3 separate regions of the Homo sapiens genome follow, and regions 1 and 2 are each linked to region 3. The links are contacts of gene promoters, found by promoter capture Hi-C in human tissues and cell types (Jung and others, 2019). All regions are on one chromosome and are shown on one strand. Each heading gives the region's core, a stretch centred on a gene start or on the middle of the fragment in contact. The rest is flanking DNA. Distances are from core to core; before and after follow the strand shown. Region 1 overlaps LOC102724687 (a long non-coding RNA gene). Region 2 overlaps LOC102724687 (a long non-coding RNA gene). Region 3 holds the start of DNAJC5B (DnaJ heat shock protein family (Hsp40) member C5 beta).

What was found. The method cuts DNA at HindIII sites, captures the fragments that hold promoters and counts their contacts. A contact is called where the count stands out against the background at its distance.
Region 1: a fragment that was not itself captured here is called in contact with the fragment with the promoter of DNAJC5B in region 3 in 1 of the 25 tissues and cell types used here (mesenchymal stem cells).
Region 2: a fragment that was not itself captured here is called in contact with the fragment with the promoter of DNAJC5B in region 3 in 2 of the 25 tissues and cell types used here (aorta and thymus).

Annotation. Positions count from the first base shown.
Region 1 is chr8:66,342,125-66,346,297 of GRCh38, forward strand. All of the region lies in intron 1 of LOC102724687 (a long non-coding RNA gene), which reads right to left. Among named protein-coding and RNA genes, the nearest start is that of RRS1-DT, 85 kb to the right of the region's middle. The HindIII fragment of the contact is 4,941 bases long and covers 1-4,173 here.
Region 2 is chr8:66,370,131-66,374,306 of GRCh38, forward strand. The region is part of intron 1 of LOC102724687 (a long non-coding RNA gene); the gene reads right to left. Among named protein-coding and RNA genes, the nearest start is that of RRS1-DT, 57 kb to the right of the region's middle. The HindIII fragment of the contact is 6,849 bases long and covers 1-4,176 here.
Region 3 is chr8:66,020,034-66,024,122 of GRCh38, forward strand. It overlaps DNAJC5B (DnaJ heat shock protein family (Hsp40) member C5 beta), which reads left to right and starts at 1,520. Exons shown (of 6, transcript NM_033105.6): 1 at 1,520-1,672. LOC105375883 (a long non-coding RNA gene) reads right to left here and starts at 1,448. Exons shown (of 7, transcript XR_929008.3): 1 at 1,391-1,448; 2 at 990-1,200. The HindIII fragment of the contact is 3,729 bases long and covers 1-2,521 here.

The DNA of each region.
Region 1 (4,173 bases), core at 873-3,372, 320 kb after region 3:
AGACAGACCAACTGATGCCACCCAAACCCTCCAAGACCTGTGACTCAATCAGTCCCATAATCTCCCTCTAGAAACCGACTCACAGCATGAATATAGTTCCAACACTCCTATGATTTTATCCCCAACCCATCAGCAGTGCCCATTTCCTAGACCCTGCCCACCAGAGTATCCTTAAAAATCCTAGCCTCCAAGCTTTTGAGCTTTCAGGGTGGCTGATTTGAGTAATAAACTCTCGTCCTCCTGTTTGGCAGGCCCTGTGATAATTAAACTCTTTCTCTACTGCAACACTGTTTTCTTGGTACATTGGCTTTGTCTGTGCAGCAGGCAAGAAGAACCCATCGGGCAATTACACTGGGACAGTTTCCTGTTAATAAACAGCAGAATAACAAGAAAGAAAAAAAAAACAAGTGTTTCTATCTACATGTGCTGTGCTCATAACACAGGAGAAACTTCAGTTCAAAAGTATCTCACAAAATGATGGGTCAAGGTCCCAGCTTATATAGCATCTCTAACAAACAACAATACATTTAGAAGTGAGAAGACAAAGGCATAAACAGCTTCAGGCTCCCAAAAGGTGGGAAAACAATGGGAATGTGGTAAAGTCTGCTCCCAGATTTTTCTGCCTCGAGTGGCATCAGTCTCTGAGCTAATCAGGCAGAAAGGGGTGAAAGAAGCGCCCCCTGCATATTTTTCACAAGAATTTTTACGGCCTGACACATGTGAGAAAGGAAAGTTCAGAGAGTCCTTTTTTATAATTGCTGCTTCCAAATTGTCTCTAGCTCAAAAATGTTTATGTCAAAGAGGCATATTTGGCGATGAAGTTCTCTGGTTTCCTTCAATGCCAAACATAAAGCTGAGAAATAAAAATAAAATCCTAAGCTCCCCAACCAACTCTTTTTGGCCCAGAGTAACCTTGAAAACTGAGTTCTCAGCCATGATAGGATAGGAGGTCAGACAAGCCTCTTGTTATACCCCCTCCCTCACAACTAGAATTATACTTTCTTCCCTAAGGGCTAAACAGAAGCCAACCCTTTCAAAAGATTCCACTGGCACAGTGGCAAACATCTGTAATCCCAGAAATTTGGGAGGCCAAGGAGGGAAGATTGCTTGAGCCCAGGAGTTCAAGACCAGCCCGGGAGACATGGAGAACCCTGTCTCTACAAAAACCTAGCTGGGCATGGTGGCACATACCTGTAATCCCAGCTACTCAGGAGGCTGATGTAGGAGGATAGCTTCAGCCCAGGAGGCAGAGGCTGCAGGGAGCTATGATCAGCCGCTGTACTCCAGCCTGGTGACAGAGCAAGACCATGTCTTAAAAAAAAAAAAAAAAAGGACTCCACCACTGCTTTAACCAACTGCCTGACGCTGCCCCTCCTTTTGTTGTTTTGGCATACCAACCAACAGCATTTCTTCCTGCTAAGAGACCACTGACCACGGAGCGGTTCTGGCCAGCCTATAGAGAATGCATAGTAAAGGTTTTTGTGTCCTCTGCCTCGCCTTTTGACATCAGAGGGCCAAAAATTCCACCATCAGATCATCCTAACACCGCCATGTTTTGTACATGGGACCCATGAATGAGGCATGAAGCTCAATTGCACATGTGCACATTTCTCCTTTCATAAATATTCATGACTCCTCCTCTGTCTTATATATGTTATATATATTAAGCCATTCCCCTTAGCATAACTTCCTGCTTCCTTTGCTCCTCCCTCGAGGTGTCTGTCCAGCTTCTTACTGAAGGCTATGCTTCCCAGCCTGTCAGAATGGCCCCCCTGCAGGTTGCAACGCTTTATGAGAAATAAAGCTCTCCTTTTCAAATTTATGACTCTTATTCTTCAGCTGACAAAGTGGCAAAAATGTAAAACAAGGCAACTCCTCTCACAAATTTGTATTTGGACAAATATAGTTAGATTTCACAGAAATGGGTTAACTATATTAACACAAAATGAGTTTTTTATTATTAAGATGAATGCATGTGTAACTTTTTAAATTTCTCAATTTTAATTTCAATATTATAAATATCAATAGATATAACTCACATCAACAAAAGCAGAGAGACTCAATTGTTTGTAAGAGTGGACTAAGGTCTTAAGACAAAAAGTTTGAAGACTGCTGCCCTAGTGTAATGCCCAGCAAAATGGAATTTTAAATATTCTTTATGGAAAGAATCATCATTTGGAAATTGCCAGTTGTTGTTTGGTTTTTGATAGTAGTGACACTGAGTTGTCCTGAAGCCTTGCTTATTTCTGGACAAGTCACCAAAATGGCCCCTTGAGTCACTCAACAAACACGCTAGCACCAGGGCCCCACTCCCTGTCCCCACACACATTCCATTAATGGATTAAGCTTGAAGGTTGCCTGAGGGGTGGATAAGTTTGCATAAGAAGCCCAGGGGCTTTGTGAAAAAGAAGGAATTGGGAAATCCATCTCATTTGCTTCCTGCTTTGAAGTTGCCATACTTATGGAAGTTATGAAAGTTAGGAAAGCAGTACCCTCAGGGTCACCCTGGTGTTAGGGCTCAGATGGTCAAAGGGAATCTCACCAGGCCGTAGAGGCAGCTAACCACAGGGAAGTGCCTGTTGATCCATGAACAGACTAAAAAAGCCACATCATTAAAGGAAGTTCTCATTGAGATCCTTGGGCTACTTAGGCATGAGGCTTCCATGAGTGAAGGAGGCACTACTCTCCCACCCTGCCTGAGTCAGTACTGCCAAAGCAGCAGTGGCAGTGCCAGCAGGCTTTGTATGTGGCAACCTCCACACCACCTCACTTTCTGCAGCAGACAGCCCTTGAATGACCCTACCAGATGCCCACGCCGGGGCAGTGACAGTGTGCTTAGGGTACTGAACACTTAACTCTCTCCAAGGCAAAATGAACCAAGGCTCACAGCCTGGATTAAATCACTGGGAATCAGGAACTGGTCACAGGAGGGCTCACCTCCCACCCTCACCTCAGACCCAGAACCTCCTACTCAAAAGTCAGATCAGGCCTCAGGTGTACCAATTAGGGGTGACATCTGAGTCTCTATGGGTGACATTGTTTGCACTCTAAACTGATGACATCAGACATCTCATTTTCAGCTTCATTCCTGTGGTAGGCAGAATAATCTCCCCCTTCCCCAGAAAATGTCCACATCCTAATCCCTGGAATCTGTGAATATGTCACCTTACATGACAAAGGGACTTTGCAGATGTGACTAAGTTTGAAGCTCCTAAACCAATAAGACTATCTTGGCAGACCCTTAAAAGTAGAGACCCTTTCCAACTGCGGAGAGAGAAAGACAGGATGACAGAAGGAGGTGCAGAGAGAGGCAACAAGAGGAAGGCTCTGCCAGCCACACGGAGGAAGGGGCCATGGGCCAAGGACACTGGAAAAGGGATAGAAACAGATTCTCCCCCGGGGCCTTCAGAACTGAAAGTAGTTCTGCCAACAGCTTGATTTTAGCTCTGTGGGACCCACATTGGAACTTCTGACATCCCAGAACTGTAAGATAATAAATTTGTATTGTTTAAGCTGTTAAGTTTGTGTTAAATTGTCACAGCAACACTAGAAAACAAATACAATTACAAAAAAAAAAATACAATTACCAATCAGTGCCTTGCCTTGCTCAAAGCGAATTCCTAAACTCTGAGAATTGTGTGTGGAAGTAACTAGAAGGGACCAGCTGAGCCCAGGTAAATGGACGTCTCTGGAGCGGCTGAATGCTGGGATCCCATCAGCAGGAGACACCGCAGGAAATGTGGCAGGGAGCCCTGTGGCCGGTCACCCCCAGGCCCAGGAGCAAGTGATGCTGAAGATTATGTGAAAGATCATTGACCTCTGTTGCATACACGCTCAAGTCTTCATTAATTTTTTCTTTTTCTTGAGACAGGGTCTTATTCTGTTACTCAGGCTAGAATGCAGTGGTGCGATCACAGCTCACTGCAGCCTCAACCTCAACCTCCCTGGCTCAAGCAATTCTCCCACTTCAGCTTCTCAAGAGGCTAGAACTACAGGCACGCATCACCACGCCTGGCTAATTTTTTATATTTTTTTTGTAGAGACAGGGTTTTGCTATGTTGCCCAGGCTGGCCTCAAACTCCTGGGCTCAAGTGATTCTTCCACCTTGGCCCTCCCAAAGAGCTGGGATTACAGGCATGAGCCACTGCGCCTGGCCTAGGTCTTCATTAAGTA
Region 2 (4,176 bases), core at 861-3,360, 350 kb after region 3:
TCCTCACCTTGTCGTCAATATCCCATCCTCCTCCAATAGAAAAATAATAATATTAAATAACATTAAATAGCCATCCCTGCATCTTCTGAGGCTGAGTGCAGGAGGTATTGTTTCCCTTTTGAAGATGTCTCCAGATTGACACCCTAGCTAAAACTATCCACAGAACTTATACCCTTTGATAAGCTCCAGGGAGAAACAAAAGCCTTCCAAATTCCAGGACAATGGAATTGTTATTTTGGGCTTTTCTTTCAGTGTCATTTCACTGTATTAGATAGATAAATGAGATGGCCTAATTATGGGTTAAAAATCATAGATATCACACCTGTAATCCCAGCACTTTGGGAGGCCAAGGCAGGCAGATCACCTGAGGTCAAGAGTTTGAGATCAGCCTGGCCAACATGGTGGAACCCCATCTCTACCCAAAAAAAACAAATACAAAAATTAGCTGGACCTAGTGGAGCACACCTGTAGTCCCAGCTACTCAGAAGGCTCAGGCAGGAAAATCGCTTGCACCCAGAAGGGGAGATTGCAGTGAACCGAGATTGTGCCACTGCACTCCAGACTGGGCGAAAGAGCGAGACTCTGTCTCAAAAAAAAAAAAGTGAAGGACACATGTAGATCCTCAAATTGTTTCTTCTAATCATCAAATTAGGATTTCTGTTAACTTTAAGTTACAAATCATGAGCAATTATATATGCATAATGAAACTATGAATACAAGCCTATAATCATAGCAGAACTGAGAAATATAAACATCCATGCACATTCAAATAATTACATTGTTGATCTTGATCATTTGAAATTCTGTATCAACAGAGGCATGTCTTTCTGGGTCAAAAAGCTAGATATAGAAAAAGGGAACTCCTAGGGACAGGATTTATGCTTTTCCCAATGCCTGATACCATACTTGGCATATGCTAGATGCTCAAGAAATAATCACTGGACAAATGAATTAATTAGTGAAAATTATATCTCTATCTTTCCTCTACTCCCAAATTCCATCACAAACTGGATGGCTCATTGCTACCTTAAACTCAACAAGATTCAACCCAGGCCAGGCATGGTAGCTCACAGCTGTAATCCTAACACTTTAGGAGACCAAGGCATGTGGATCACCTGAGATCAGAAGTTTGAGACCAGCCTAGACAACATGGCAAAACCCCATCTCTACGAAAAATACAGAAGCTAGCCAGGCATGGTGGTTCATGCCTGTAATCCCAGCTACTCAGGAGGCTGAGGCAGGAGAATTACTTGAACCTAGAGAAGTGGAGGTTGCAGTGAGCCAAGATCGCACCACTGCACTCCAGCCTGGGTGACAGAGTGAGACTCTGTCACACACACACACACAAAAAATCCTTTTTTCATGATTTTCTATTTCTATCAATTTTCTGAGTCACCCAAGCTCAAGTCTGCATTTGGTTTTTCATCTCATACTTAGTCACTTTCTATCAGTTACCAATTCCTATTGATGGTTTTTAAAGGGTAAACCTCACATCTGTTCCTTCTTTTTTCATTCATTCCACTGTTGACCATCTAAGAACATGAACCAATGTTTCTCCTTATGTCTGTGATCATTTTGCTCCCTGGGGCATAGGGAGGTGCTTCCTTCATGAGATGAACTGTCTAAACATTTTAGCCTAGCATGTTCAGCATGACCAGAACAGACACCACATGATCAGATCCAGAATTACCTTTCCAGCCCTAATCTGTACAGGTATGTTACATATACTTTATTTCCTGATTCCTCTGGATTAGTTGTCCCCCTCTCCAGACTCTGCTGCTTTACTCGAGCCTGGAGAGTCTTATGTACCCTTGATATCCAGCTCAAATATTTCCTCATCCATAAGTCCTCAGTGACTGCCATCCAGAGTAAGCACATCCTTGTCTTAATCTGCTCAAGCTGCTATAACAAAATGCCTTAAACTGGGTAATTTATAAACAACAGAAATTTATTGTCCACAGTTCTGGAGACTGGAAGTCCAAGATCAAGGTGCCAGCAGATTCAGTGTCTGGTGAAGGCCTTTTCCTCATAGATGTGTCCTCACATAGGAGAAGGGGAAACAGGCTCTTTCAAGCCTCTTTTTTTTTTTTTTTTTTTTTTTTGAGACGGAGTCTTGCTGTTGCCCAAGCTGCTGGATGCAGTGGCATGATCTCAGCTCACTGCAACCTCCACCTCCCAGATTCAAGAGATGCTCGTGCCTCAGCCTCCCGAGTAGCTGGGACTATAGGTGTGCACCAACATGTCCATTAATTTTTGTATTTTTAGTAAAGATGGAGTTTCACCACATTGGCCAGGCTGGTCTCAAACTCCTGGCCTCAAGTGATCTGCCCACCTCGGCCTCCCGAAGTGCTGGGATTACAGGCATGAGCCACCATGCCTGGCCCAAGCCTCTTTTACAGTTGCACTAATCCCATTCATGAGTGTGGAACCCTTATGACCTAATCACTTCCTAAAGGCCCACCTCTTAATGTCACCAAATTGGGGATTTGGTTTCAACGTGAATTTTGAAGAGACATAAAATTCAAACCACAGCACCCCTCCATAAATTCCCAGACTACTTAAATCAAGTCTCTCTTAAGAAACTTACCACATTTGACTTTGCATTTTTAAAGATTATGCACTTATTTTGATCATCCTCACTAGGTCATAAATTCATCTACTTGTTAAAAAACACGCATAGAATACTTATTGTGCTCAAGGAACTGGGATAGACAGTGATGCTTCAGCAATGAAGAAGACAGTCACAGTCTCTTCCCTGATGAAGCTTCCTTTGCAGCAAAAGAAATGGGAATTTTCAAAAAACCGTAAAAAAGCCAGAGCAAATGAAGGAGAAAGTAAATGAGGCAAATGCAGAAATGTGGACAGAACCTGCCTATGAAGGGGCCTTGTAGGTTATGATAAAGAATGTAGTATTCTTCTCAATGTGCAGGAAGCCATTGATGGGCTTTCTGCAGAGGAAAGACATATTGGGCTTGGGTTTGTCAGAGGCTTCACTGGCTGCTATGTGGAGAAGAGGCTGTAGAGAAACTAGTTAAGCAGACTACTCGCATATCTAGGCAAATATCAATCGTGGCTTACTCTAGAGTGGTAACAGTGAAGATGCAGAAAAGTAGAGGCATCAGAGGTACTCTCTAGAGATAAAGCCTGCAGAATTTGTTCACGGATTGAACGTAGGAGAAAGGAAAACAAGAATTAAGATTGAGTCCTAGCTTTTTGACCTGAGCAACTCTGTGGATGCCATTTACTGAGTAGAATATGTTGAAGAAAGAACCAAGGTGATGAGTGATGAATAGAGAGGCTTGAGCATGTTTGAATGCTGATGGAAATCAGCCATTGGAGAGAAGGCGAGTGAAGATACAGGGTAAAGAAGGAATCAATCTTTAGTGGGCCCCAGAGTTGCAAAGTCTGGGCTACCTGCCAACATGGGCACTTAGGGGCTAAGTGTCACTAAGTTCATGGAACCTTAGACCATACACTTCGGCCAGTCAGGATGGAGGGAACACTGGGTTATACATGCATGAAAGAGAGGATGAGTCTGTTCAATGACCACAATTCTCAATCCTAATCTTGACATCTTTCAGAAGCAACACTAAAGGAAGAAATTTTAGAACATTTTTTGTCACTGTTCTCTATCCAGCCCTCTCAAAAAAGAAATCTTCCCTGGAAAAAAGGTAGGTTGCAAAGCAGTATGCATTGAGCAACCTGCAAACATACACACTCTCATGCATGTGTGTGCACACGCACACACACACTTTATACATATTTGTAAATAATTGAGGACTGCTATTAAAATGTAAATGTCAGTATCTTGATGATTGGATTATAATTAATTTTTTCACTGTATGCACTTCATAAATTTTCTACAATTAATATGCCATTTTTGTATTAAGAAAAAAACTAATAAATTTTTTTGTTAGTATTTATTAGTAAATTTAATAAATGAACTTATTGGATAAATATCTCAGCTCTCAGCCACACCCACATTTTGTGTGATTCTTCAAGAAGGAAGAGACTGGCACAGGCAGCTGTGTGGTCTGACTCAAGGCATCAGATCTGTCCAGTTTGCTGGTCTCCCCTCCCTACAAGGAGTATGCACGTCCTCCCCAAGTCACTTGCTGCAGTCCCAGCCTCTGTCCTCTACCTGCAAGAGTCCAGTCAGGGTGCCCACTGCCATTT
Region 3 (4,089 bases), core at 270-2,769:
CAAAGGGTTGCTTAAGGCAGTGGCCTTCAAGTGTGTTCTGGGACCAAATGACAATTTCTCCCCAACCAGCAAAGCCCTGTGGTGGGGAAAAGGCTTGGTGGAAGATCTGGTTTGTAGTTAATGTTAAGTAACCTTTCCACTTAATTAGCTTTGTGATCTCGTGCAAGACACAACTTCTCTAAGCTATAATTTTCTCATCCAGAAAATTATACTGAAAATAATACTTTGTTTATCTCACCAAGTTGTGAAGATTAAATAGAGTGATATGTGTGAAAATAGCTTGTAAATGAAGCATGATGTAAAATGTTATTGGTATTATGAAAGCCCAATATATGTTCTCCTCTTGAGAGATTCTTAAAGCACAATTCTCTGACTTCACAGATACGTCGTCTGATGCAATACAGATACTTTTTAGTATCATATGGGGTTAGCGTCTAGAAAAAGTGAAGGGTATGAAATAATGAAGAATGAAATTCCAGTGAGACTCTATTTCTTTACAGATTGCTCCTCCCTGTCCCTTACTCAACACTAGAACCTGGTATAGCGCTGTAATCAATACTCTGTGTGTGTGTGTGTGTGTGTGTGTGTGTGTGTGTGTGTGTGTGTGTGTGTGTGTGTGTTTTAGACAAGGTTTCATTCTGCCGTCCAGGCTGGAGTGCAGTGGTGCAATCTCAACTCATTGCAGCTTCGATATCTTGGGTTTAAGCGATCATCCCCTGTCAGCCTCCTGAGTAGTTAGAACTACAGGCACGCACAACTACGCCCAGCTAATTTTTGTATTTTTTGTAGAGATAGGGTCTCACTATATAGCTCGGGCTGGTCTCAAACTCCTGGGCTCAAGTGATCCTCCCACCTCAGCCTCCCAAAGTGCTGGGATTACAGGCATGAGCCATCTCGCCCTGCCAACACTAACTCTGGACTTTCATTTGAGCTTTGCTGCTTATCATCAAATCTCAATGAAAACATTAGTTGCTCAGAAGTCACCTTACTTGTTAATCTAGAAATGGTCTGGTGGCTCAGGATTTCTGAGTCTGGGCTGGGACCAGAGCCAGCTACTCCTGGCACCTGTGTTGCTGGGGAAACATGATCTTCACTGAGACTCTGTTCTCTTCCCATAATGTACATTATCCAAATGGTCTCTTGTTGTGGGTGGATTCGGGTAAAAATTGTCTTCACCACGTGGGGCCTCAGTTTCCTCATCTGCAAAAAAAAAGGAGTTAGATGAGAATCTGGTCACTAGCCGGTCTTCTAGGTCTCTCCCCACAGTTAAGATCCCATAATTCTGCAGGTCAGTTTATGACCTGCAAAGGGATTCTTCCCTGAGGGCCCTCACAAGGTTTTGAATGGCAGAGCAAATGGAAATGGGGGAATGTCCTTCCCAACCTCCCACCATGGGCAGGAGAGGAAGTGTTGTCCAAGAGGGCCTCAGCTGGACCATCTGGAGGAGTGAGGATTCCACTCTGTGACATCACAATATCCAGCCCAGGTTTGACCTTGACAACTGGGAAGGAGAAATAACAGGAGGCGCAGTTACTGATATAGCCAAGGTGGGACACTACTGGAGGGAGCTAGAAGGGATCAGCCAGCCATGCCTCCAGTTCAGGTACTTGGCATTGCTAAGCTCAGAACAGGACTTGCCAGTGTCTAGATGAAAAAGAGGAGAGATCTCAAGGTGAGTGTGTCTCCAAGCTTAAGAAGAATAGTATAAGCACAGACGGCTTGTGCCCCAGCTGCGTTAGGGTAATGTAAGGTTCCACACGAGCAGAAGCAGAGCTGGGCGCATCTTGCCAACAGCCAGGCTGCTTGCCATGAAGCCGGACGGTGAGGACATTTCCGAGGCTGTAGTCCACTTGTGCTGCTGGTGATATATTTCTATTTAGAGGTTTTTTTCTTTCAATAGCTCCTCCCCGGATGACAGGGTAGAGTAAACAAAAATAAGTTAACTAAGGAAGTATTTTAATAGAAGCCAGTACAAAAACAAACAAAAGTAATAAAAGGTGCAAAGTTGTATTATGGGTTAGCAAGCAAGACTGACTCTAAGGTCAAGTTTTGAAAGTTCAAATCTTGAAAGGCAAAAGGATACCCCTATAAAGAGTAAAAGAGAAGGGCCTTTTGGTTGAGAAGTAAGTAAAACAGCTCTGCTGGAACATATACCGGACCCCCCACCCCGCCCCCAGCAACTCCTGCCAGTGAAATCATTGCTGGGGATGCGGACAGTTCTGTTTTCTTTACCTTGCCTTGGGGTTTTGGCTTCTACAATACTTGTTTCTTCCTGGAGTCTTGGGGCCCTGAGAGGCTCTGAGTGACGGCAAAGAACTGTTCTGTTTACCAGTGGGGCGGAGCATGGGGCCAGCGCCAGGCCCTGACTCATCCCCATGTGGACTCCCTTGGGTCTTAGCACACTGCGACCCCGGAGTTGGAGCACAGGACAGCTCAGGCAGGCACGCTGAGCTCTGCCTGCAAGGTCAGAGTTGATGGCGATGCTCCCTCAGTGGGAGTAAGAGTCCATGTTCTGACAGGTAGGTCAGTTACCCACAGGGGACCCCAACAGCCATCGACAAGAAGAGGAGGAGATGGATTCTCTATCCACAGGACACAACTCTAACTCTCCTTGGCCTCCAACACATCACGAATAAATATATCACAGCAGTAAGGTCAATACTCTCACACTCTATGAAAGTAGTAATAGTCCCCAAAGCATGTAAAACTGAGAGATCCAGATAAAAGCAAAATATACTTGCACATAAACTTCATAGCACACATTCAACTTCTGTACAGAAGTCACTGTGATTTTCACAATTAGGTTATGATCTAATCATAACCACTTAAGACTTGAACATTAAAATCTCATTGGCCCAGTTTTTAGGCTTCCTTCATTGATAGCCATTGAAAACTAAGTTTAAGCTGAACCTCAGATAATACCCACAAAACACAGAATGTCCTAACTCATCTCCATTTGCATTTGTTGACTGTAACGTTCCCTGATCCTTGTGTTAGTCACATGCTGCTGCAGCCTGTCGCATACTGCAGAATTTTAGAGTCGGAGGGGAACTAGAAGATCATCCATTCCACAGCTTCGTTTCCAGGAGAAACCACACAGAGAAGTGTCTCAGCTAAGGGTATCAAGCTAGTTAGTGCTGGGGACTAAAGTTTAAGCCCCCTCACTCTTAGCCTGGTGGCCTCTCCAATACACTCTGCCCCACAATGAATGAATGTATTGGTTCATATTTGAACTAACTCTTTGATTTTCTAAGTTAGAATATTCTAAAAGGAGGAAATCTCATTTATCACCTTGGTGTGGTTATTGGTAAAAGCAGATATTCTCCTAGCCTCTGCACCTCCATACAAGATAAGCTTTGGTCAATGACAAGAAAAAGCACTGAAGACCCCATTCAAAACACTGAGATAACAGTGAAAATAAAACCAGGGAAATTGACTAGCTACTGTAAATTGAGGGCTGATTAGAAGTAATCCTTTTTTTCTTAAAAAAACATGTATACAATTTACCAGATTTTTACTTTATAATAAATATACGGTCTTCCTGTGGCCTTGTCTTTTCCTGTTTAGGTAGATAATACTTTGTTTATGAATGTGTGTGTGTATACCCTTGAATGTACAGATGAGTAAACACTTTATCTGGCAGGTGTGGGGCTGGCTATTACATCCATCCGTGGTATCCGACCTACACTTACTTACCTAATATATCTTCTATATGAGCCTTCTGTGACTTATCCCATGAATTAATATTCTATTTGGAATTAACATGATAGTGTAGGAGGAGCCTCCTTAGACTTGTCCAGGGTTTGACATACATGAAGCTATATATGTCTTGCATCCGTAATTAATCTGCAAGTTTGAGCCCAGGCAGTCCCTGGGTGCAGGTAGTCAGCGTTTTTCCAATTAAATTTATTGCAAATGTACTAATATCAGCCCAAAGATCCAAATTCTGAAAGAAAATGAAATGAAATGAAGAATTTTTAAATATAAATAGAGACCTAACTTTTATAGTCATCAGCGCCATCATTAACCTTAGAGATGTCTGGTAAGTATTTTCTAGGCCATTAGATTGTTTTTTAGCCAACTAAAATG